Regions from separate parts of the Homo sapiens genome. Here regions 1, 2, 3, 4, 5 and 6 are each linked to region 7. The links are contacts of gene promoters, found by promoter capture Hi-C in blood cells and fetal thymus (Javierre and others, 2016). All regions are on one chromosome and are shown on one strand. Each heading gives the region's core, a stretch centred on a gene start or on the middle of the fragment in contact. The rest is flanking DNA. Distances are from core to core; before and after follow the strand shown. Region 1 has its middle 18 kb from the start of JPH4. Region 2 has its middle 13 kb from the start of NGDN. Region 3 holds the start of BCL2L2 (BCL2 like 2). Region 4 has its middle 6.6 kb from the start of PABPN1. Region 5 has its middle 17 kb from the start of NGDN. Region 6 overlaps SLC7A8 (solute carrier family 7 member 8). Region 7 holds the start of DCAF11 (DDB1 and CUL4 associated factor 11).

Region 1 (3,731 bases), core at 569-3,068, 520 kb before region 7:
AAAAAAAAAAAGAGGCTTTCAATTTCCCCCTACTCAGTAGCATGTTAACTGTGGGTTTGTCATACATGATCTTTATTATTCTGAAGTGTGTTTTCTCTATATCCAGTATGTTGAGTTTGTTTGTTTGTTTATTTTTTGAGACAAGGTCTGTTTCTATTGCCCAGGCTGGAGTGTAGTGGGCTCACTGCAACCTCAGCCTCCCAGGTTCAAGTCATCCTCCCATCTCAGTCTCCTGAGTAGCTGGGATTACAGGTGCGTGTTCACCACCATGCCTGGCTAACTTTTTTTGTATTTTATGTAGATGGGGTTTCTCTGTGTTGCCCAAGCTGGTCTCGAACTCGTGAGCTCAAGCGATCTGCTGGCGTGGGCCTCCTAAAGTGCTAGGATTACAGGGGTGAGCCATCTTGCCTGGCCTGTTGAGGGTTTTTTTTTTTTTTTAGATCATAAAGGGATGTTGAATTTTATCAAATACTTTTTCAGCATCTATTGAAATGATCACATGGTTTTTGTTCTTGGTTCTGTTAATTGATGTATCGCATTTATCAATTTGGGTACATTGAGCCATCCTTGTATCCTTGAGATGAACCCCGCTTGATCATGGGAAATGATTTTTTAAGTGTGTTGTTGAATTCAGTTTGCTAGTATTTCACTGAGGACTTTTGCATCTATGTTCACCAGTGGTATTGGCCTGTAGTTTTCCTTTTTAGTTATGTCCTTGTTTGATTTTGATATCAGGGTAATACTAATCTCATAGAATGAGTTTGGAAGTATTCCCTTCTTGTCAATTGTTTTGAAGAGTTTTAGTAGAATTGGTAATAATTCTTTAAACATTTAGTAGAATTCAGCAGTGAAGCCATTGGATCTTGGGCTTTTCTTTGACAGGAAACTTTTTATTATGGCTTTCATCTCCAACTTGTTATTGGTTTGTCAATATTTTCTACTTCTTCATGGTTCAATCTTGGTAGATTCTAGATTCTATGTGTCCGAGAATTTATCCATTTCCTCTAGATTTGTCAATTTGTTGGTGTGTATTAATAGTTGTTCATAATAGTCTCTAATGATTCTTTGTAGTCTTTTTTTTTTGTTGTTTTGTTTTGAGACAGAGTCTCTCTCTGTAGCCCACACTAGTGTGCAGCGGTGCAATTATGGCTCACGGCAGCCTCAACCTCCCTGGCTCAAGCCATCCTCTTGCCTGAGCCTCCTGAGTAGTTGGGACTATAGGTCCATGCCACCACACATGGCTAATTTTTACATTTTTTGTAGTTATAGAGTCTTGCCATGTTGCCCAGGCTGGTCTCAAACTCCTGAGCTGTAGCAATCCTCCCACCTCAGCCTCCCAAAGTACTGGGATTATAGGCATGAGCCACTGCACCTGGCTAATTCTTTGTAGTCCTAGGGTCTCAGTTGTTATGTATCCTTTTTTATTTCTGATTTTATTTGTTTGGGTCTTACTTCTTTTTTTCTTAGTCTAGCTAAAGGTTTGTTGATTTTATTTATTTTTTCAAAAAATCAACTTTTAACTTTGTCAATCTTCTATATTGTTTTTTAGTCTCAATTCTTTTATTTCCACTCTGATTTTCTTTCTTTCTTTCTTTCTTTTTGAGACAGAGTCTTGCTCTGTCACTCAGGCTGGAGTGCAGTGGTGGCGTGATCTCAGCTCACTGCAACCTCCGCCTCCTGGGTTCAAGCAATTCTCCTGCCTCAGCCTCCCTAACAGCCGGAACTACAGGAACGTGCCACCACACCCGGCTAATTTTTGTATTTTTAGTAGAGATGGGGTTTTACCATATTGGCCAGGCTGGTCTTGAACTCCTGACCTCGTGATCCACCTGCCTTGGCCTCCCAAAGTGCTGGGATTACAGGCGTGAGCCACCACGCCCGGCTCACTCTGATCTTTACTATTTCTTTCCTTCTATTAATTTTGGGTTTGATTTGTTCCTGCTTTTCTAGTTCCTTGAAGTGTATCATTATGTTATTTATTTCAAGTCTTTATATATATATATATATATATATTTTTTTTTTTTTTGAGACAGGGTCTTGCTCTGTCACCCAGGCTGGAGTGAAGTGGCATGGCCATAGCTCACTGCAGCCTCAGATTTCTGGACTCAAGAAATCCTCCTGTCTCAGCCTCCTAAGAACTATAGGTGCGCACCACCATACCCAACTAATTTTTTTAGTTTTTGTAGAGATGTGGTCTTGCTATGTTGCCCAGGCTGGTCTCAAACTCCTGGCCTCAGGTGATCCTCCTGCCTCAGCCTCTCGAAGTGCTGAGATTAGGGGTATGAGTCATCATCCCTGGCCAAGTCTTTCTACTTTTTGATATTGGTGTTTTTTGCTATAAAATTCCCTCTTAGCACTGCATTTGCTGTGTCCCATAGATTTTGGTATATTGTATTTCCATTTGCATTTGTTTCAAGAATTTTTAAATGTCTTTCTTAATTTCTTCACTGACCATTGACTGTTTAGGAGCATGTTTAATTTCTTTGTGTTTGTGTATTTTCTGAGGTTCCTCTTGTTATTGATTTCTAGTTTTATTCCATTGTGGTCAGAAAGGATATTTGATACGATTTCTACTGTTTTGAGTTTGTTAAGACTTGTTTTGTGACATAAGGTATGGTCTATCTTGGAGAATGTTTCATGTACTGGTCAAAATAATGTGTATTCTGCAGCAGTTGGGTAAAATGTTCTTTAAAAAATATTTTGTAGAGATAGGGTCTTGCTGTGTTGCTCACGCTAGTCTTGAACTCCTGCGCTCAAGTGAACCTCCTGCTTCAGCTTCCCAAAGTGTTGGTATTACAGATGTGAGCCACTGCACCTGGCCAAAATGTTCTTTAAATGTCAGTTAGGTCTATTTGATCTAGTGTATAGTTTAATTCTGATATTTCTTTGTTCATTTCCTGTCTGGATGATCTGTCCCTTACTGAGAATGAGATGTTGAAGTCCCCTACTATTTTTGTATTGAAGTCTATCTGTCCTTTCAGATCTATTAATGTTTGCTTTATATACCTGGGGGAGCTCCACTGGTGGGTGCATAGATATTTATCATTTTTTTTTTTTGAGGCGGAGTTTCACACTTGTTGCCCAGGCTGGAGTGCAATGGCGTGACCTTGGCTCACTGCAACCTCTGCCTCCTGGATTCAAGTGATTCTCCTGCCTCAGCCCCACGAGTAGCTGGGATTACAGGCATACGCCACCACATCCAACTAATTTTGTATTTTTAGTAGAGACGGAGTTTCACCATGTTGGCCAGGCTGGTCTCGAACTCCTGACCTCAAGTTATCTGCCCACCTCGGCCTCCCAAAGTGCTGAGATTACAGGCGTGAGCTACTGCATTCGACCTGATATTTATAATTGTTATATTCTCTTGCTGAACTGACCCCTTTATCACTATATAGTGACCCTCTTTATCTTTTTAAACAGTCTTTGATTTGTAGTCTCTTTTATCTGATATGATTGTAGCTACTCCTGCCCTTTTTTGGTTTCCAGTTGCATGGAATATTCTTTTCCACACTTTCACTTTCAGTCTATGGCTTTATTGGTGAAGTGGGTTTCTTGTGGAAGCATATAGTTGGATCTTTTTCTTTATCCATTCAGCCACTGTATGCCTTTTAATTGGATAACTGAGTCCATTTACATTCAGCTTTATTATTAAGTAAGGACTTACCACTACCATTTTGTTGCTTGCTTTCTGTTTGTTTTATAACTCCTCTCTTCTTGCTTTCTTACTGTCT
Region 2 (3,522 bases), core at 664-3,163, 630 kb before region 7:
ATGCACACATGAGCACCTTACCTGTTTGGTTTTATCATGTGATGGTTTTGTCATGTGATAGCTTTATTCTGTAGAAGTAATTTACATCTCTGCCTCATTCTTTTCATCTTAGGGGACAGGGAAGAGAGTTTGACCAAGGTCTGTCTTTGCCTTAAAATCATTGTTTTGTTAGGATTTTATGAAGGCTTGGGGAAATGTCTATTGGGAATTCACAACAGTCTTCATAGATACCTTATTAGGAAAACTGTGTTTTGTTTGCAGGGGAGATTATTAGTGTGTCAATTTTCAGCACCATGGAGAGTTCAAACGCTCCTCATTCCTTGGTTTGGTGAATGGGACACAGCTAAACCATAGAGCTGCGTGGTGTAGACCTGCCCTTTTTCAGAGCCCAGTTTGTCCAGTCTCCAGTTCTGATTGGTACAGATTGGATGAGAGTCAAACACACCCCTGAGTGTCCCCCATCCTCCCTGGAATCTTTTAGGTCCATAAATCCCAGATTCATGCCAAGGATTTGGCTAACTTGATGGAGGTATGTGAGTGGAATCCTGCCTCCTGCTCCATTGGTAACATCATTTATCATTTATATTATGATACATGAAATTTTTACCAGCCCTTAAGAAAAACTCTGTTCCCTACTCATCTTTGCTTAGAGAACCTTGAGGGGACTTAAAGTTGCTTTTTCATTCCTTGGGCCTCGTTTTCTGCCTCTGCATGAGGAAAGGCATCAATGCTCTGGCTCTCTGCCCAGTCTTGCTTTTGTGTTTCTTTGATCTCATTGTTCAGAGGGTCTCAGAGAAGCCCCCAGAGCCATGCCTTTGCATGTTTAAGCTATTGATGCTTTTGAGATGACAGAGCGTCGCTGTGTAAGAAGTGTATTAAAGGTCTATCGTGAACAAACTTGGGTCAATAGGTGGCAGTAGTCACTGAGTCCTGAGGCCCTGACACCCCCTAAACACAAACACATTTGATGGCCATTATATTTAAGGAAGGATGTGAGAAAGGAGGTCACATTGAGATTAAAACGGGGAGAAAAGCAATCCTTTTTGGTGGAATCCAGGAAATGCTGAAATGTGCTGGATTACATCTGTGGGAGTGTTGTGTGGGGTGTAGGGGAAGATTGCTGTCAGCTAGTGAAGGGCACTGATTGGAAACAGCAGAGCCTCAGGATTGGGGGAACAGATTCATTCATCTAAGATGTAGGTGCTAAGGTTTCTTCCAGCTAGAGTAAGCATGTGTTAAATGAGGACCAGCACTGAAAGGACAGAGTGGGGTTGGAGTGAGTAGAGATACAAGTAGGGGAAGGAGGGGCAGAACTGTGTGACGGGACCGTGGAAAGGGTGGGCTGTGAAGGGGAGGACTGCGGTTAGAGGGGGAGGGGGAGGCTGCTGCAATACTGAGCCTATCTAATGGGGGAGGGGAGGGGGAGATATTGGTGTGTGCTGCAGCTGCATTACTTCCCCTCCCCCACACTTCCCAAGAAGCCAGAGCAGTGCTGGCAAATCTGTCTTCATGTATTTATTATTATTAAAAATGTGACAGATCCTTCCTCCCTGGAAGCACAACAAATACTACTGATCACATTTCTCTCTCCCCTCCCTCTGCAGAGCTTTTGCATTCTCTCTTTCATTCCACCCTGTCCTCCCCCACTTGGTCTGTTTGGTGGGGGGAACCCTTCCCTTCTTTCCTTCTTAGACCTTGGTGGCTCCCTGGGGGTTTCTAATGGTGGTTGGGAGTTTTGAGGCAGTGCTGGGAGGAAGCAGCTGAGTGAGGGGCATTCATGGCCCCAGGGAGGCAGCTGTATTCTCTTATATCCAGTGGGGAGAGGAAATCACTTGGAAATAAAGATAAAAATCCTTTCTCCAGGTAATGAAATAAGCAGGTGCTCACATTCCTTTCAGTACCTGGTGTTCCTCCCTCTTCATATTCTTCTCTTTTCTACTGCCTGAATTCTGAAGGGGAAACCCCCTTGTAATGGAAAAAGCCAGGAGTTCTCTGTCTTCCCTCCCTTACCTTAAGTCCCTCTCTTCCCAGGAAAGCCATATACTATTTATTCTTCTAGCCTGCATGTTGTGTAACCAAGAGATTTGAATGGCAAAAGCCATGGCTTCTTCCTCCCCACCTGCACCCCAGACTCCCATGCCTAGGCGGGAACCTCTTTTGTTGCAGCCTGTAGCCCTTCACCATACCCATAGGTGGTGCTGCTGTTGCTCTGCAGGCAGGGCCCTCCCGGCCAACATCATTCCTCCCCACCCTGTCGCCCTCCCCCTTTCCCCAGCCCTCTACTGCCTGATTGTTATTCCACCAACGTCTCCTCTACTGTTCCCTTCCTCAAATTAATTTTGTGGCGCTCTTTTTTCCGCAGTGCCATCTTCTTCCCCTCCCCCAGCTCCGGCTCTCTTGCTTTCTGTCTCTCTCTTTCTCTGTCTGCAGGATCTCCATCTCACTTCCCTACCTGAAATCTACACTCTTCCCTACTCCCTTTTTCGTTATCTGTTCTACCCCTGACATCTTACAGATGACTCTCCCAATGAAAGGGGGCTGTAGATGAGGGTGGCTTAGAAGAGAACAGGGTGAGGAGAACTGAGGGGTCAGTACCGAAGAGTAGGTGGGAGAATGACGAGGCTCTACAGGGGAAACATGATGGGAGACAGAAGATATCCTTTGCTGTCTGCATCTATTCAGTTCCTGGATTTGGATAAGGAGAGTTCACTTGGCAAGCGATCGATCCTGTGTTATCTGAATCTACAGATTTGGGTTCTACATGCTGGGAAAATGGGAGCTAGGGAATAGCAAGAATTCAGATAATAATGGCTCATCCAGAAACTTTTGGATTAGATTGCTAAGGATACCTCTACTTTCGTTATCCTGTGTTTTGAAGACTGGAGGAGATGTCCTGTTACTGATCTTTTGTGTCCTCAGAAGGTTCTTTCCAGGACAGTTGTGACACTTATGTGATGGACATCCTGGCTCTCTGGTCACTGCTGAGCACAATTCTGGCTGCAGGACCTTGGCTCACTCTTGTAGTCTGCCTCCTTTTTTTGTCATTCCATGTTGTTCCTTTATCACAGCTGAATTTACCTGGTTGCCCCATTCAGCCCACAGTGCCCTGTATTGCTTAGCCTTTCCAGAATATGCCCAAACTCTTTAGACTGTTAGCTCTTGCCTCATCTCGCTTCTTAACTTTATTTTGGAGACCTTTCATTGTGAGACCAGTACCCCACAACCAGCTAATTCAGCAGTGTTTTTTATTGTAAAGTTATCCAATTTCTAGGATGGCTAATTTTTCTCTTATTGGATTATTCTTTATGAATTAGTAGCATCCAGTTACTCCCTGGATGGTAGTGCTGAGTCTGACTTCTGTATATACTAGGAATAGGCCACAATATGGACCTCTTTCCTTGATTCCCTGGTGGGAGGAGATCTTCCTTAGCTTAAGTGGCAGTCCTAGAATGGCTGGCTTCCATTTCCTCAGCATGTGTAAGTCAAGACTGACTCCTGGACTATGGGGAGAGGCAGAGTTTG
Region 3 (3,328 bases), core at 40-2,539, 810 kb before region 7:
GGGTTCAAGTGATTCTCATGCCTCAGCCTCCTGAGCAGCTGGGATTACAGGCTGGCTAATTTTTGTATTTTACGTCTGGCTAATTTTTGTATTTTTAGTAGAGATGGGGTTTTGCCATGTTGGTCAGGCTGGTCTCGAACTCCTGGCCTCAAGTGATCCACCCGCCTTGGCCTCCCAAAGTGTTGGGATTACAGGTATGAGCCACCGAACCCAGCTAGTTGTTACTGTTATTGCTGCAGAAAAGACCTTGCTTCTCCAGTGACCATAAGGGAAGATGGTAATACAGAGGCTTGGATTGGAGGTAGAAGCAAAGGGAGCTAGCAGAATAGGAGAATTAGGTTGCCTCTTTCTGGCCTTTGGTTGGGGCACTCTTTAAAAAAGTGCCAGATCCAAGAGCCCAGGGGGCTGGCTGTGAGTGCCCTCATGTGGATCAGCTATGGTCAGACTGCTTCACGCCTGTGACCTGCCCTGTATAAATATACTGCCATGTATAAATAATGGCCCCATATATATGTAATCTGGAAGGATAAACATCAAGCTTAACACTGGCAACCTGCAGGGAGGGAAGTGGAATTGGGTGTGTATGTGTGTGTGTGTTTGAGAACCTGTATTTTATTACTCCGCACGTCTTTATTGTTTGATTTTTTTCATAATGAGAATGAGTTTGTGTGTTGGGTAAAAAAAAGAAAAAGAAAAAAACCCCACTAAAATCAATCTAATTACAAAAGAAGATGAATTAAAGAAAAGTACCGAGAGAAACTGCTTGTGATCCAAGTCCTGGCTCCCTAATGCCTGGCTGAAGCCCAGCCCACAAAGAGAACACTGGGTTAAAGGTCCTGGAGAAAAGATGGGAAAGGTTTGGTGTCTATGTGGTGTCTGCTAGCCCCATAAGGGTAAGGCACCTGGTAGACGGTTCCCAGCTTAATGGGAACTGCTCCTGTTTTCCAGGCACACAGTTCAGGGCTGGAAAAGTTCAACAAGTGCATGGAACATCGGAAACCTCCTGAAAATGCTAAATTTGCCCCGAGATGTCCCGAAGTCCGGCATATTTCTCTGGGCAGCCTAGAGGCTCAGGAGCCCAGCCCAGCCCAGCCCACCGTGCCCTCTCAGCCAGCCCTTCTTTGCCTTCAGCAGCCCTCCCTCTTCCTGAGTAGTGGCCCTTTGCAGGCCTGCGTCCCAGCCCCGCCCCTCTCTCTGGACGCATCTCTGGGCCCCATCATCACCCGGCGCCGGGCCCTCCCTCTGCCCCCCCCTTTCTCCTCCCTCCTTCCTTCCCTCCCTTCCTCCCTCTCTCCCTCCCTCCCAGCTCCTGCACCAGGAAACGGCCCGGATCCCGGCAGCGGCCTGACCCGTGAGATCCCTAACCTGGCAGGCGGGCGGGGTTGGAGACTGGCTGAGGTGGGGGTAAGGGAGGAGCTGGGCCTTTGGGCTGCACTAGGGGGAACCGGGAATAGAGATGGTGTCGGCAGGAAGCCCTTGGCCTTGGGTTTCCCGGGAGGACAGTCATTAAACATGGATTCGGCCACACAGCTGGTAGAGCGTTGGGGGCAGGGGCCTAGGCCCAGAGCTGCAACCCTAGCCCTTCCCAGGCCAGAACCTGATCCCTGGCCTTCCCCTCCTGGTTCTGATCTCCCCCTCCCCTTTCCAGGGCTCCACGCTGGCCAGGAGGATGAAAGGCCCCAGCTGGGGGCTCCTTGCCACCAGTGCTGTGTCTTAAGAGCTGCCATCCCGGCTGGGTGAGTGTCTCCTTCCTTTCTCTGTCTGGAGTAACCCATTGCGTCTCCCACCTTTCTCTTCAGCCCATCTGCTCCCCCTCATCTTGTGTCTCTGCCAACATCTTTACATCTTGCATTTGGGGAGGTCCTAAGACCCTTCCTCTAGCCAAGAAGGTGTGGACTAAGGAGACCCGGGGGTGGGGGTGTTGTAGGGGTGTCATTGAGCTGACGTTGTCTTATTGTGAAAAGAATCTAAAGTATCCTAAACAGAAAATTTACTTGTTTTACATTTAATTTGGCATATTAGGAATGTAATGGCCAGCCACTCACAGCCTAGTCTCATATCATGACTTAATTCCCTTGTTCTTGCCTCTCCCTGTCCAGTGAGTCCTGAGCATTTCCTCTCTCCTCCTCATCTCACTGGGTTGGTCAAACCAGAAGTGCTCCTTCTGATTCTCTCTTCATATATTCATGCCAGTCTTTCATCCTTGCCTCTTATAGCCGCCCGGATGGCGACCCCAGCCTCGGCCCCAGACACACGGGCTCTGGTGGCAGACTTTGTAGGTTATAAGCTGAGGCAGAAGGGTTATGTCTGTGGAGCTGGCCCCGGGGAGGGCCCAGCAGCTGACCCGCTGCACCAAGCCATGCGGGCAGCTGGAGATGAGTTCGAGACCCGCTTCCGGCGCACCTTCTCTGATCTGGCGGCTCAGCTGCATGTGACCCCAGGCTCAGCCCAACAACGCTTCACCCAGGTCTCCGATGAACTTTTTCAAGGGGGCCCCAACTGGGGCCGCCTTGTAGCCTTCTTTGTCTTTGGGGCTGCACTGTGTGCTGAGAGTGTCAACAAGGAGATGGAACCACTGGTGGGACAAGTGCAGGAGTGGATGGTGGCCTACCTGGAGACGCAGCTGGCTGACTGGATCCACAGCAGTGGGGGCTGGGTAAGAAGCTTCTCAATTGCCGCTCTGCACATCCTTCTGCAAAGCTGGTCTCCAGGGGGAAGATGGGGGCTCTGATTGGAGGCTGAGGCAGCTATGTTGGGAATGAGGTACGGGGCTGAGTCTCCCCGTCTGGATGGAATTAGATTGAGAGATGCCTGGACTCTGCACTCCAGGGCTGCCATGCAGTCAACACTGGATGGGCTCATGGTCCCAAGCAGAGGACAGAATACACACCCAAGGAGTGCCTGCAGGGGAATGTTGTCAGGGACTTTTTACATCTGAGTCATGGCGTGGGAGGTGGGGAGGACCAGGGATGGGTGGTGGTCAGGCAAGCCTTGGCAAAGGATGCTAGTTCTGAGCAGAATTTTTCGCCAAGGAAAGGATGGAATTCACTGGAGGCAGAGTGGGCAGATGAACCAGTCTCTCAGGGTGGGGGTGCACCTGGGGGGATCAGAGGGGCTTGCAGGGAGAAGAGCTTTGGCCAGAGAGGAGCTGGGTATGGGGTAGTGCTCGCAGTGGATGGAACTGGAACTCTTCCTCTCCTCTTCTCTCCACTCTTTCCTCTCCTGATATCCCTTTCTCCTTCTTTCTCTCCTGCTTCCCTTCTCTCCCACAGGCGGAGTTCACAGCTCTATACGGGGACGGGGCCCTGGAGGAGGCGCGGCGTCTGCG
Region 4 (3,497 bases), core at 482-2,981, 790 kb before region 7:
GTTGTGGAAGGGAGGTTGCCACTTGTGAATTAAGGAGTAGGAATTACATTACAACTAGCAGGAACATTATGTGTTTAGTTGAGAATGATAGGTTTTCTGGATAACATGTAACCCTGATTGGCATTTGAGAGAGAAATAAGCCTGGGAAAGTAAAAGAATAGCTGAATTGGGCCGGGCATGGTGGCTCACTGCTACAATCCCAGGACTTTGGGAGGCTGAGGTGGGCAGATCACGAGGTCAGGAGATCAAGACCATCTTGGCTAACATGGCGAAACCCCACCTCTACTAAAAATACAGAAAATTAGCCTGACGAGGTGGCGGGTGCCTGTGGTCCCAGCTACTCGGGAGGCTGAGCCAGGAGAATGGCGTGAACCCAGGAGGTGGAGCTTGCAGTGAGCCAAGTTCACACCACTGCACTCCAGCCTGGGTGACAGAGTGAAACTGTCTCAAAATAAAAAAAGGAATAGCCGAATTACTGACCTAATGGCGCTTTTGTGTGCTCCTGATACAGCTTACGTGCAAATGAACTATCCATGCCTGCAGCCCTAGAGCTTTGGATTGGGGTCTGGGTAACCTTGTCTTTGGGGTCTCGCTATGTTGACCAAGCAATCTTCCCATCTTAGCCTCCCAAAGTATTGGGATTACAAGTGTGAACCACTGCACCCAGCTACCTTTTCTACCTCAAGGTGGGCCCAAGAAATGCAGAAGACAAAATACACTTAGCTAAGAGACAATCGGAAAGCTTGTTTTTCCAACCATGCAGTAACCATTTAATGTGTCCAGCTAACTTATATTAATTGGATCATTTATTTTTTTGAGATGGTCTTGCTTTGTCACCCAGGCTGGAGTGCAGTGGCTCACTGCAGCCTCAACCTCCCGGGCTCAAGTGATCCTCCCACCTCAGTGTCCTACATAGCTGTGACTATAGGTGCCTGCCTTCACACTTGGCTAATTTTTTGTAGAGACAGTTTTGCTGTGTTGCCCAGGCTGTCCCAAACTCCTGAGCTCAAGCAGTCCTCCTGGCTTGGCCTTCCTATAGGCGTGAGCCACAGCTCCTGGCCAGGATTAGTTTATTAGGACTTCACAACTGGCTTTCACTGTTTTCATATCTAAATTTTGTCTTGGGCATCCTAATTTCTCCATTTTTTATTCCAGTGTCAGATTGGTCTTAAAACTTGAACACTACATCACTAGCCAGGTTGAACCTTCAGACTTCATTACCTATAGAATTTCTTAGTATTTCAACCTTACTATTTTTTCATTTACTTCTCAGGATGTTTTGTTCACAATTGCCTCTGACCTGGATGCTCTTCAAAAATCATATGTTAAAGAAATGGCTCTGTGGCCGGGCGCAGTGGCTCACACCTGCAGTCTCAGCACTTTGGGAGGCAGAGGTGGGCGGATCACTTGAGGTCAGGAGTTTGAGACCAGCCTGGCCAACATGGTGAAATCCCGTCTCTACTAAAAATACAAAAATTAGCCAGGTGTGGTGGCATGCACCTGTAGTCCCAGCTACTCTGGAGGCTAAGGCAGGAGAATCGTTTGAACATAGGAGGTGGAGATTGAGGTGAGCTGAGACTCAGCCACTGCACTTCCAGCCTGGGTGACAGAGCGAGACTCTGTCTCAAAACAAACAAAACAAAAAACTCTGTTATATCTGAAGCCTTAACCCACCTCTCAAATTGCAGTATTTTCTAAAATCTCATGTCAGTGTTATCCACCACATATTTTAGGATTTGGTCATTTATTCTACTTTCTGTTATGGGTTAGGCATTTGAGGTCTATCTTTTCTCCTAACTAGATTCACCTAAAATAGTGCCGTGATCTCTGTGGCTTCTGCAGAGGCTGATTAGTGAGGGTCTGGATAGTGTTCAATATAAACTTTTTACTGGAAGAATGAAACAGCCTAAGTGACTTGTTGCTGTTAATGCTGTGATGGTCTCATCTGTCCACCAGGGGGCACTAAATGGCTGGCTCTAAAAGATCCCCATAAATTGTTGGGTATTGGAGGGTGAATCATGTTTTGACCCTTCTCTGGTTTAGTTTTCCATATTCAGTCAATTCTACCATATCTTGTCTGTTCTCTCTATTCCTACTTTCACTGCTTGAGTAACTCCCCATCATCATTGCAGGGGTCCTGGCAGATGTATTGGCTTCAAATTTTTTTTTGAAAAATAAAAATTCCTAAAAAAAGTACTTTAAAAGATAGGGTCTCGCTATGTTGGCCAAGTTGATCTTGAACTCTTGGCCTCAAGCAATCCTCCTGCCTCGGCCTCCCAAAGTGCTAGGTTTATAGGCGTAAGCTACCATGCTCAGCCTCCAAACTTCTTATTGCCAAAAAAAGCCCTCTATGATGCCACCAATAAGTACAAAGTCCAAACACAAGCATGGAACTACAACCTTTTTCAATCTGATCCTGATTACATTTCTCTTCCAGATCCTGCCCTACACCTGATGTACTATGCATTGTAGTTGTTATTTATTTTCATGTATCCCTCATGCTGTTCCCTCTAGCCTGCTATGCTCATTCCAACTCTTCTATGAAAATCACGCATATCCTTCCAAGTGTAAGCCAGGTACAACAGACATGAAGCCTTTCCTGATTTCCAAGTCAGAAGTAATCACTCCTGCAGTCAGGACAAACTGTTCCTATCCCTGTTTAATATTTACTTTGTGGTTTTATAATGAAACTAACTACATTTCTGTTTTCCCACTAGAATGCAAGCTTCTTCTTTTTTTTTTTTTTTTTTTTTTTTTTTTTTTTGAGACGGAGTCTCGCTCTGTCGCCCAGGCTGGCCTGCGGACTGCAGTGGCGGGATCTCGGCTCACTGCAAGCTCCGCTTCCCGGGTTCACGCCATTCTCCTGCCTCAGCCTCCCGAGTAGCTGGGACTACAGGCGCCCGCCACCGCGCCCGGCTAATTTTTTGTATTTTTAGTAGAGACGGGGTTTCACCTTGTTAGCCAGGATGGTCTCGATCTCCTGACCTCATGATCCACCCGCCTCGGCCTCCCAAAGTGCTGGGATTACAGGCGTGAGCCACCGCGCCCGGCCGAATGCAAGCTTCTTGAGGGCATCAATTGTGACTTTGTGTCTGCCTCACAGGGCCTGCCATTTAGTAGGTGCCCAAAAGTTGCTTATTCACCCTGGGCTTGCCTTTCCTGTCCTGGAGAAGGCGGTAACAACAATAGTGTTGCCTTTTACCTGGAGCTGGTAGTTTTCTTCCTCTTTTTTTTTTTTTTTCCTGAGACGGAGTTTCACTCTGTCGCCCAAGCTGGAGTGCAGTGGTGCCATCTCAGCTCACTGCAACCTCCACCTCCCAGGTTCAAGCAATTCTCCTGCCTCAGCCTCCTGAGTAGCTAGGATTACAGGCATGCGCCACATGCCTGGCTAATTTTTTGTATTTTTAGTAGAGACGGGGTTTCAACATGTTGGTCAGGCTGGTCTCGATCTCCTGATCTCGTGGTTAACCCACCTCGGCCTCCCAAAGTGCTGGGAT
Region 5 (3,623 bases), core at 976-3,475, 660 kb before region 7:
CTTCAGTTTCCTTAAGTTGATGGCACCAGAATATGAGGTCCTTGGGGTTGAGAACTGTAATATTTTCATCTTTGTGTCCCCTAGGGCTACACTACTGAGTGTGGTAGTCACTAGCCAAACATGGCTGTTGGGTACTTGAAATGTGTCTAGTGCAACTGAGACACTGAATTTTTCATTTAGTTAAAATTTAAAATGAAGGGAGATCAATTTATTTTCAACAAAGATTCCAAAACAATTCTTTGAGGAAATGGTGCTGGATACACACATGCAAAAAGATACATTTAGACCACACCCCACACTATACACAAAAATAACTTAAAACAGTTCAGAGACTTACATGTAAGATCTAAAACTTACAATTTTTGGAAGAAAACGTAGGAAAAGTCTTTGGTTAGGAAACAAGTTCTTACATACAATACCAAAAGCATAATCCACAAAAGACAAAATTGTAAGTTGGACTTCATCAAAGTTGAAAGATTTTGTGCTTCAAAAGATGTCATTAAGAAGATTAAAATTTTAAAAAGAAAATTAAAATCTAAGCCACAGACTGGAAGAAAATACTTGCAAATCATATTTCTAATAAAGGACTTGTGTTAAGAATAGATAAAGAACAAGTACAACTCAATAATAATACAAGAAAATTTTAAAATAGTCAAAAGATTTATAGACTTAAAGTCAGCTAATTAGCAAGGTTAAAGAAAGAAAAGATTTATAGATATTTCAACAAAGATATGCAAATGTATAACAAGCACACAAAATATGCTCAACATCATCAATCATTATAGAAATTCTAATTAAAACCTCAATGAGATAGCACTTCATACCCATGAGTGTGACTATAATAAAAAAGAAAGGCAATAATAAATTGTGGCTAGGATGTGGAGAAACCAAAACTCTCCAACATTGCTGGTGAGAACGTAAAATGCAACAGCTACTTTGGAAAACAGTTTGAACTTTTCTTAAAAGCTTAACTGACATACATGTACCAAATAACTCAGCCATCCACTTTTGGGTATTTACTCAATAGAAAAGAAAGTATATATCCACACAAAGACTTATATAAACAAGTTCAAACAAGCGTTTGTTCATAAACGCTTGGATATTATTCATAATATCCAAAAAGTGGAAATAATCCCAATGTTTATCATTAGGTGAACAGATAAACAAAATGTGGTACATCCATACAATGGAATATTATTCAGCAATAAAAAGGAATGAGTACTGATACATGTTATTAATGTAACATGGATTAACCTCAAAAACATGCTAAATGAAAGAATCCAGATGAAAAGGCCACATATTTTATGATTCCATTTCTATGAAATGTCCAGAAAAGGAAAATCTATGAAGACAGAAGGCAGTGGCTGCCTGAAGCTGGTGGTGGAAATGGCAATGGACTGCAAATGGGTGTAAGGGATCCCTTTGGAGCATTGGGAATGCTCTAAATTGGATTGTGGTGATGCTTGCACAAATGTAAATTTTCCTTAAAAATAATTGAATTGTATAAAAGGGGTGAATTTTATGCTATGTAAATTATACCGCAATAAAGCTCTTAAAAAACTAAAGCAGTGTAAAATACTTTCGGTAAAACACAGCTTTGTTGTTTTGGTAGGATTGTTTTACTTCAACGATCAACATAAGATATTGTCGTATTATAGTAACATATCAAGAATATGTGTTGTTTCTAGTGTATACACAAACATCACCAAACTAGTTGTTGTCAATAGATTGATTTGCTCCAGTGCGTTTTTCTCACACTAATTTAACATTATAATGTGTTTATTTGAATATTTGATATAGACAGCATGGTTATAGTGATACCTATATAGAGTCATAATTGGTAATTAAATTGAAATACTTATTATTTTAATTTAATAAATATAACATTTTTATAGTTGAAAAATAAGTATGTACAAAATGTTTTAGTTTAAAACGAAGGCATGTTACTAACATAGAATCTAGTGGGAACACTTCTGATTGTGAACACTCCAACATGTAAAGAGATTATAAGTCGGTCACTCTCATTCTCAAAGCAAGAAGAAAGCTGAACTGAAAACCTACAACTTTTCTTAGTTCTATCAGAGAATTTTGGCTACAGGACAAACTATCACCCTGAAAACTGGAGAGACGGGTGAATACGGAGAATACAAGCCAGCTTACCTGAAGCAGGAGGTGCTGGAACCAGTAACTGACAGGAACACCTAAATGGTAACTTCGATGAATTGCCAGAGGCTGAGCGTGAATTAGCTTGAGAGTTAAAAACTCCTGGGACCCCAGTCTAAGGGGAGAACCCACACTTTCATGAGTTTTACCTCCCACCAGGTTCTCATGATGAAGAATGGAGAGAAATATCCTTATGTTTGGCAGGGCGAGGGTAAAGTGACCATTTAGAAATAAAACCAGAGCTTTCTCCACAACTAAGGCCTATCCAGCAGGGGGAAAGCCTTTGCCGATGTCTTCTTTTACTTGGGGAAAGGGAAATTATCTAGCTCCATCACATTCTGGACTTCCTGTCTCACATATGAGGTAAAAAACAAAACAAAACAAAAAAATACCCTAAGAAACAATTCATTCTGGACTTCTTATCTCACATATGAGGTACAAAACAAAACAAAACAAAAAAATACCCTAAGAAGCAATTATGAAGGTTACAGTCTAGAGTCACAGGTCCACTAAAATACTGAGCTCCAATCATGGGACTATAGAATGCTCTCCTACCCAGTATCTTGCTACCACATCAACAGGACTCCTGAATAGTAAAAGTGGATTATAGCTGACAGGGCTGCAAGGCTTAGATTCTATTTACGAAGGAGTTTCTAAGGAAACTCAAAGACAACAGAGGAGGCAAACACAAGGACTTTAGAAGAAATTAAAATCTTTGACACCTACTGCTGCAGCAAACTAAACACAGTCTAACTCCTGGTCAGATAAAAATAAAAATAAAACTTCACACACAGTCTACCTCAATTCCTATTACCATGTCTGCTTTCAGCAAAAAATTACAAGGCGTGCTAAAAGACAAGAAAAAATACAATCCAAAGAGACATAGCCAGCATCAGAACTAGACTCAGATGTGGCAGAGATTTTGGTATTATCTGTTTTAAAATGTACTGAAGATTTTGTTTCAATCAAGTATGGTAAAATGACAAACATGGAGACAACTGCCTTGAAAGAAGAGCTTATTACAGTTCTTAAGGGGAGGGGACAACTCATGCCACACAGGGCCAGATGGAGAAGCATCCGGTTCAGTCAGGAGGTAGACAGAGAGAGAAAAGCATGGACACAAGCCTTTATTGTGTTTCCCACAGGAAAGGAAGGCAGGGCAAGGTAAATAGCTTAGCTTTGACAAGTCTGGACAATTTCAGCAGGCTCTGTGTTACAGCAGTGATCTCTAGTTGTCTGGTCTCTGGCCCTGGGATTAATTAGGGCAGGGGAAGTACTGGCTTGGTGTGCAAGAGTTAGATAAAGGAGGTGGTTAGGGATACAAGCTTTGGATTGGTTGGTTTGCTGGATGCTCATGGGCAAGTTGTTTACTGCCTCTAGAAATTAGTTAGCTCTGGAAGAGGCAGTCTTTCCAGGATTAGCAGGCCCCTAAGATGTCAAAACCTCATAAAATACAGAAA
Region 6 (3,392 bases), core at 1-2,500, 950 kb before region 7:
TCTAAAAAAAAAAAAAAAAAAAGCATCTACCAAGCCTTCCTGACAGCTTGGTTCTTGTTTTACTGAATACCGTATGAGAGGATTGGATGCTTATCTGGTATGGCCTGCCATAAAATTCAAAAAAAGAAGAGAGGATTTGAGGGGCCTATAGAAGTGGATTAAAAAAAAAAAGTATTCAACAAACCGGAAAACAGAACCTCTGTACACAGACTCAAAGCAGCTGGGAGTGTCAGGTATAAGGAAAGGGAGAGAGGAAGTTTGTTATAGCTAATGCATGTACGTGTGCACCCTGCCGGGCAGAGGGATGGCAGCTCCACATGGCCTTCACAGCTAGGAGGAAAGGGACACTGCAGCGGGACAGGTGTGGAGCTGGTTTCCATTTCCCCTAAAGGAAATAAGGAAGACTACGCTTGGGAATAAGAAGGATTTAAGATTTTTCTGCTTATGAAGGTAGACAAATATTTGAACCCATATTTCAAGGACATTGAAAATTCCTGTCTTTAGAGGACAAGATTGGCTACTGTTAAGTTGGAGATAATTTCCTTGCAGTTCTGCTGAGAAGGCAGAGGCCAAACTTAGATAAGCTTTATTGAATCTTTGACTACAGGAATAGAGGAGGGGGGTCTTGTCATTTTTGTCATCAGCCAGTTTCTAAATTTCTCCTTGGCTTGGTCCTTGCAGTGTCTAGGTGAGGGGAAGGCTGTGGAGAGGACTGTGCAACATGTCATTCTGGAGCAGGGCTACAGGCAGGTGGCGTTCTTATCTCCTAGGAGAGTTTGGACCTTTCTGGTCCGAGGGGACGCCAAAAAGGCTACACTACTTTGGAGGGTCTTTGTGCAAGAGGTCAAACCCTTGGCAGATTTGGGGAATGCAAAGAAAGCCATGGGGTCTGGCTGCCTGGGAACTTCTTCAACCTGTGGCCTGGCTCCTCTCCTAGGGTGCAAACTGAACAGCCTCGGGGGTTCTTGATTTCTAGTAGAAGGGTAAGGGTGGCCTCTTGTCTGAGACACTTTAGCAGCATCAGCAGGAAAAAGGAAGCTGTCTGTGTGCAAAGAAACACCAAAACAGCAGTAGCTAGCACTTCTGTGGCCTTGCCTCCCACCCTCCCATTAGCTGATCTGATGGCAGAAACAGCACTCTTCCTGCATTCCCACGCCCTCGCTCTTCCCCGCTCCCCATCTCAACTCTGGATCCAGCTAGGATGCAAGGATAAAGTGGCCCCAGCATCTTGCCCACCCCCAGTGACTGATATGACTGGGGTGCTGGGTGTCTAACACTGTGCTGAGGGTGTCCCCTTCCTTCTCTCTTGCAGTCCTTGTGACCACGACCTCTTGAGGCAGCTAGGATTACACTCCCCATCTCACAGTAGGGTGGACGAGTGATTTTGCCCAGCACTCACCACTGCAGTTAGAAATGGTGGACTGGAGATGCAGGCGCAGGCAGCCTGGTTTTGGAGCCTGCATTCCTCTGCCTCCAGATCTGTGAGCAGGCCTGATCAAACACAAGGAATACACCCCCAAACAAATGTCTTGGCCCCATATTGCAAATGGCCTGGGTGGTGGAGGTCTGTCCCAGGGTTGACCAGCACTGCCAAAGAGGGCTCACTTGCCAAGGAGACCGCCTCTTGGGTCCCAGCTGCCTGCCCTGTAAGAGGCTACTGAGGTGGGTGAGTGATCTCTTCCTCCCCCATCCCGTAACAGGACAGAAGGAAAAGTGTCAGGACCTGGGAAAGCATATGGCCAGGATGATCACTGCCCTCAGCTAAGTGTATGTGTGTTAGAAGCTATGGGAAGGCAGGGACCCAGTGAACCCTAGAGGTGGAGCCCCTGAAACATATCTAAGTATTTACTTTAGAAATTAGTTTTTGATTAAAGATGTAAAATACCCCAATCCATTGAGATGACTAATATCAGAGATAAAGCTTTGAGACTTCCTAGAAATACGGCTCTGCAGAACTTCTCTAGGAAGCCTCTCTAACCTATTCCAGCCCACAGAGATCTTTTCCCCTTCTCTGAATTTTATTGTTATTGTTGTTTTTAATTTCTTTTTTTTTTTTAGAGACAGGATCTCACTATGTTGCCCAGGCTGGAGTGCAGTGGCTATTCATAGGTGTAATCATAGCTCACTGTGGCCCAGAACTCCCAGGGTCAATCGACCCTCCTACCTCAGCCTCCCAGGTAGCTGGAACTACAGGTGTACACCACCATGCCTAGCTCCCTTCTCTGAATTTTTACTGCAATTGAATCCTAACCACAGTATCTGTCTATATGGCTTTTCTCCTAGTTAGAAAACTCATCAAGGGCAGGGATCATGGACAAACCCTTCTCCAAGAGAGTTAAAAGAGTGTGACTTGACAAGTTGAGGTAGAAGTAGATGTGGACCTACTGCCAAGAAGCCAGAGTAATCTTCCTAGGAGCAGCTGGGAGTAGCCAGCACAGTGCAGTGCACTGGACAGACAAGAAATCAGGAGCCCTTGCACTCCACGTGGCCTGCCTCCCTGGGCAAGTCATTTGCCTGGCTCTCTGTTTCCTTATCTGTTCTGGGAAAATGTTAACACTGGCCCAGCTTACCTCATGGACTTGTCATTAGGCCCAAATCAGATAATATAGGTGAAAGTGCTTTGCGTAATGTCAAGAACCCTGCCAGTGAAAATCATAGTGCCTCCAAGGAGCTACTTAAGTTTCTTTCTTTTTTTTTTTTTAACACCAGACAATTGTATGCAGAATCCATTCATAAAAAACACACTTGTAGGAAATTGAAAGAAAAGTAATGGGGAAAAGAAAAGGAGGCAGGGTGAGGTGGGTCAGGCCTGTAATCCCAGCACTTTGGGAGGCCAAGGCGGGCGGATCACTTGAGGTCAGGAGTTCAAAACCAGCCTGGCCAACAGGGTGAAACCCCATCTCTACAAAAAATACAAAAATTAGCCGGGCATGGTGGCTCACGCCTGCAATCCCAGCAACTCGGGAGTCTGAGGTGGGAGAATCACTTGAATCTGGGAGATGGAGGTTGCAGTGAGTGGAGATCACGCCACTGCACTCCAGCCTGGGTGACAGAGTGAGACCCTGCCTCAAAAAAAAAAAAATGGAGAGAAGTTAGGAGAGTCAGAGACATGTAGACCTCCAGGGAGGATAAAAGAGGCTGTCCCTCAGACTGGGTGCAGTGGCTCACACCTGTAACCACAACACTTTGGGAGGCCGAGGCAGGAGGATCACTTGAGCCCAGGAGTTCAAGGCTGCAGTGAGCTATGATCATGCGGCTGCGCTCCAGCCTGAGTGACAGAGTGAAGACTCTGTTTCTAAAAATAATAATAATAAATATAATAAAAGAGGCTGTCTTGCTACCAAGACCCAGATGACACTTACATAAGCAGATGGCAGCCAGGAGCCGAAGGC
Region 7 (3,690 bases), core at 107-2,606:
TAAAATCAATCAATAAATAAAGATCCCGATTTTCCAGGCTGGATAACCCAGAAACCACGGAATCCTAAAGTCTCAATAAACGTTAAAGCACAGATAGTAAGTAATCTGGCAATAGAGGATGGGCGCCCAGCAGACCGCCTACATAATCAGTGGAGCCGAGTGCAAGATGAAAATACCAGGCACTTGCTTTAAAATTACTAATAATTTCAAGACCGTTAACACTAGAACATTAAACCAAACATTCAGGACCCTTCTAAGCGCAGAGGCCATCAAAGCTAGCCCTGGTGACAAGCTCAGGTCTCCGGATCTAGAGACTAGGAGACGTCGCCCGAAAGCTGGCCAAACCCTCGCCCTCACTGGGAGAGGCCCCAGGAGGGCCCAAGAAGGCCACGAGCCCTCGCTCCCATCCCTGCCCTCAGGAGCGGGCGGAGGGAAGCTCGCAGCTTTCCCAAGGAAGTGCAGGCTGCAGGGAATGAAGTTCAGCTCGGACCCTGAGCCTCTGAGCCCGAGACAGCAAGGTCATTCAACCCACACGTCCCCACCCAGCCAGGGCGAGGATCAGAGATGTGGCAACTCCCGGCCTTGGACTCAGGCTTGTTACTCATAAACCCGCAGGAGGGGGCAGGAGGGGGCAGGAGGCGGCGAGCGCGCACCCTGGACCCGCGGCCGGGGGCGGAGAGGCACCGCGAGGACAGAGGGACTAGCGAAGGTCTGCAAATCCCGGAGGGCCAAGGGAGCGTCAAAGGGGACAGCGGAACCGGAAAAGCTTTGACAGAAAGACGCGTGTATTAGGGAACGTCTGCAAAGACCGCGGCGGAAAGCCAGGGATTGTCTTAAAAAATTGTCAGACCGGATAAAGGGAGGTCTAAAAGGGGACCGTCCCAAGAGCAAGGCTTCCAAAAGCTAAGCCCGGAAGGACGGTATGGAGGTCTACTGGGACGCTGGGCACCCCTTAGGGCAGAACCGACTGGAGCTGCGGCCAGCGACAGAAGAACGGCTCCAGCTGGACAGGGGAAGCAGTGGGGAGAAAGGAGGCCCTTGGGCACTGTCTGAAAAGTGCGATGCCAAATGATCTTTAGGGACAGACAGTAAATTATATCCCTTGCTAAAATACCTCTCGGTAGCGAACCACCAAACGTTTCTTTTTTAAGCCCCGCCTCTCAGCCGTTACGCCTAGTTCGGCTGTCTCTGATTCAGGAAGCTGGCAGTTCCCACTTACTCCTCCCCAGCAAGAGCTAACAGCCCTCCTTGGGTGTGCACTTTCTCCTCCCCTCAGGCACCTCGCGCATTCTCCCGCCTACCTATCAATCATCGTGCTCCGCTGTCCAGTTGGCTGGCCAAGGGGGCGGGGCCGTCGTGTGACGTTTGCAGCCCGCCGGCCAGGAAGCCGCGAGATGCGTGACGAGCGAAGCGCGTGACGGAGGAGCGGTTGGCCAACGCAGTGGCGGCAGTCGGTGTAAACAAGGCCTCGCGCCGCTGCGGGTCCTGCGACCGCTCCTGGCTGGTGGGTGGTCTCGCGTGGGGCGGTTACCGCCGGCTTCAGTGGGAGGTGCTTCTCGGCTTCCTCCCCCTCATGGCGTACACACCCCCGGCGCACCACGTGGGCGTGAGGCGAGGAAGGAGGGGTGTTAGGCCAAATTCTATTTTCATTGGCTGTCACTGCTGCCGGCCTTTGTAAGGGGGCGCTCTGATTGGTCGATAAGGTGGGGGCGTCGAGGGTCTTTGAGTCCTAAGGCTTCTAATTGGTTAGATGAGATAAGCTAGTGAAGCGCTTTCTTCCGAGAGGGATTTCGATTGGTCGGTCAGAGAGGTTACCTGGAAATCCAACACCGCCCAACACCCCTCCCGCTCCCCAGTCCGGGGACTTCGATAGGTGAGTTTGGTGTAGAAAACAAATCTTTCTTCAGTTGGTGAGCTAGGGTAGCGCACTACGGTTCACTCTTGCTTTCTTTGCTTCACAGGATTGGAGAAGGTTTGTGTTCCCGACGCCTTGGTAGTTGGCATAGGCTAAAGAAAAGGGATCTCAGCCCCGAGGAAGGGTCACCCTCCTAGAGATAGCTACTACCCCGTCTCAGGAGACCCTGGTATTTCTAGAGCACGCTTTGCTTTCACCAAACCCAAGGAGGTGACAGGAGGAGCCCCCGCACAGGACCTAAGAATGCTGTGACCAGAAGATGGGATCGCGGAACAGCAGCAGTGCAGGATCCGGGTCCGGAGACCCCTCCGAGGGCTTGCCCCGAAGAGGGGCTGGCCTGCGTCGGAGTGAGGAAGAGGAAGAAGAGGATGAAGATGTGGATCTGGCCCAGGTACTGGCCTATCTCCTCCGCAGGTAACTTACCCTCTGGTGTGACCCCCAGCAGGTGCTACCACAGTGCCTTGATCCCAACTCCAGGCAGGAAAATTACAGAGGTTAGGAAATGGGATTCGCTCAGGACAGCTGTTCTGTTTGAGCTGAACAGCCTTTCCCTGCTGGGCACCCATGGCACTCAGCTCCATACCCAGTAAGAGTGGTTCTTACCTAGGGAGGGTCACCAAGAGGACCTGCTCATGTGTTTGAGGGGCTATTCAAGGGAGCCTGTCTCTGTGACTACACAAATATAGTCTATTTTCCAAGTAAGCTTGAAAAAAAAAAGGGGGGGGTCCTAGTGGGAAAGGAGTGATGTAAGGGGTGAAGAGATGGGAAGGGAGTGTTGAACTTTTTAGTAAGGCAGTTGACACATGATATGAGGCCACTTCGATTTACTTGAAAAACAAGTTTAATTTGCCCTGACTCTAACCTGTTCTTGAGGAAAGAATGCCTTGAAGGGAGAGACCACCTGGAATTGACTGGAAAAGGGTGCAGCTGGCTTTCTTTCTTTGCTTATGGCTCTTTGAGGAGAAGATGGGTTTGGGGGTCCCTTCAGAATATTGTATTCTTTTTTGTTTGTGTTTTGTGTTGTTTTTAGTAGACATAGACAGGGCTCACTGTGTTCCCCAGTCTGGAGAACGGGCTATTCACAGGTGTGATCAAGTGCACACCACAGCCTGCAACTCCTGGGCTCAAGCAATCCTTGCCTCCCAGGTAGCTAAGACTACAGTTGCACACACCACCGCACCCAGCTTAGAATATTGTCTTCTGTGGTGGACTTCTCAGGCAGAGGCTCAGAAGGAAATGCTGTGAGGATGTTTAGCTTGTTGGGAGGTCAACTTAGTAGGTCATGTCCACAGCGTATTGGTCTTGCTCTTGTTCTAAGGAAATGATGTTAGAATGTTTAGCTCGCTGGGAGGTCAACTTAGTAGGTCACGTCCACAGCATGTTGGTCTTGCTCTTGCTGTAAGAGTAAAACTCTCTTTCCTACTGTGTTTTATAGGAGACCAAAAATAACAGCCAAGGTCTAGTCAGCCTCAAACCTCAAAATGAGTACCAAGTGGTCTAAGAGCTAGATAGCCATTGACTCTGAATTTGGTTGGTTTGGGGGAAGAAGTCCCCTCCTTTATAATGGGGGTCTCTCCACAGAGGCCAAGTGAGGTTGGTGCAGGGAGGAGGTGCAGCAAATTTACAATTCATTCAGGCCCTCTTGGACTCAGAGGAAGAGAATGACAGAGCTTGGGATGGTCGTCTTGGGGATCGATACAACCCACCTGGTAAGAGGAAAAGCCCCTAATGTTGGAAGACTTTTACTAGAAAACCTTTTAGTGATATTTTGAATG

What was found. Contacts are between HindIII fragments. The CHiCAGO score rates a contact against its expected background, and 5 or more counts as called.
Region 1: a contact is called between a fragment that was not itself captured here and the fragment with the promoter of DCAF11 in region 7, in 1 of 17 cell types (total CD4 T cells). The highest score is 5.3, in total CD4 T cells.
Region 2: a fragment that was not itself captured here is called in contact with the fragment with the promoter of DCAF11 in region 7 in 1 of 17 cell types (megakaryocytes); the score reaches 5.6 in megakaryocytes.
Region 3: the fragment with the promoter of BCL2L2 here is called in contact with the fragment with the promoter of DCAF11 in region 7 in 1 of 17 cell types (M2 macrophages); the score reaches 5.8 in M2 macrophages.
Region 4: a contact is called between a fragment that was not itself captured here and the fragment with the promoter of DCAF11 in region 7, in 3 of 17 cell types (monocytes, non-activated CD4 T cells and naive CD8 T cells). The highest score is 5.4, in monocytes.
Region 5: a contact is called between a fragment that was not itself captured here and the fragment with the promoter of DCAF11 in region 7, in 2 of 17 cell types (megakaryocytes and erythroblasts). The highest score is 6.5, in megakaryocytes.
Region 6: a fragment that was not itself captured here is called in contact with the fragment with the promoter of DCAF11 in region 7 in 1 of 17 cell types (M0 macrophages); the score reaches 5.6 in M0 macrophages.

What each region holds. Positions count from the first base shown.
Region 1 is chr14:23,594,487-23,598,217 of GRCh38, forward strand. No RefSeq gene overlaps it. Among named protein-coding and RNA genes, the nearest start is that of JPH4, 18 kb to the left of the region's middle. The HindIII fragment of the contact is 6,973 bases long and covers 1-3,731 here.
Region 2 is chr14:23,481,253-23,484,774 of GRCh38, forward strand. No RefSeq gene overlaps it. Among named protein-coding and RNA genes, the nearest start is that of NGDN, 13 kb to the left of the region's middle. RefSeq lists enhancers at 819-1,576, 1,577-2,333. The HindIII fragment of the contact is 5,436 bases long and covers 1-3,522 here.
Region 3 is chr14:23,305,544-23,308,871 of GRCh38, forward strand. It overlaps BCL2L2 (BCL2 like 2), which reads left to right and starts at 1,290. Exons shown (of 4, transcript NM_004050.5): 1 at 1,290-1,351; 2 at 1,649-1,736; 3 at 2,217-2,656; 4 at 3,273-3,328. The coding sequence starts at 2,225. BCL2L2-PABPN1 (BCL2L2-PABPN1 readthrough) reads left to right here and starts at 1,290. Exons shown (of 8, transcript NM_001387346.1): 1 at 1,290-1,351; 2 at 1,649-1,736; 3 at 2,217-2,656. The coding sequence starts at 2,225. RefSeq lists an enhancer at 2,149-2,982. The HindIII fragment of the contact is 2,126 bases long and covers 537-2,662 here.
Region 4 is chr14:23,326,259-23,329,755 of GRCh38, forward strand. No RefSeq gene overlaps it. Among named protein-coding and RNA genes, the nearest start is that of PABPN1, 6.6 kb to the left of the region's middle. RefSeq lists a silencer at 1,935-2,024. The HindIII fragment of the contact is 1,983 bases long and covers 741-2,723 here.
Region 5 is chr14:23,451,233-23,454,855 of GRCh38, forward strand. No RefSeq gene overlaps it. Among named protein-coding and RNA genes, the nearest start is that of NGDN, 17 kb to the right of the region's middle. The HindIII fragment of the contact is 2,522 bases long and covers 965-3,486 here.
Region 6 is chr14:23,161,923-23,165,314 of GRCh38, forward strand. It overlaps SLC7A8 (solute carrier family 7 member 8), which reads right to left. Exons shown (of 11, transcript NM_012244.4): 3 at 3,363-3,392. Among named protein-coding and RNA genes, the nearest start is that of SLC7A8, 20 kb to the right of the region's middle. The HindIII fragment of the contact is 1,337 bases long and covers 583-1,919 here.
Region 7 is chr14:24,113,421-24,117,110 of GRCh38, forward strand. DCAF11 (DDB1 and CUL4 associated factor 11) reads left to right here and starts at 1,357. Exons shown (of 15, transcript NM_025230.5): 1 at 1,357-1,873; 2 at 1,962-2,329; 3 at 3,497-3,624. The coding sequence starts at 2,175. It overlaps NRL (neural retina leucine zipper), which reads right to left and starts at 1,529. Exons shown (of 3, transcript NM_001354768.3): 1 at 1,302-1,529. RefSeq lists enhancers at 610-1,325, 907-1,046, 1,287-1,436. The HindIII fragment of the contact is 1,852 bases long and covers 765-2,616 here.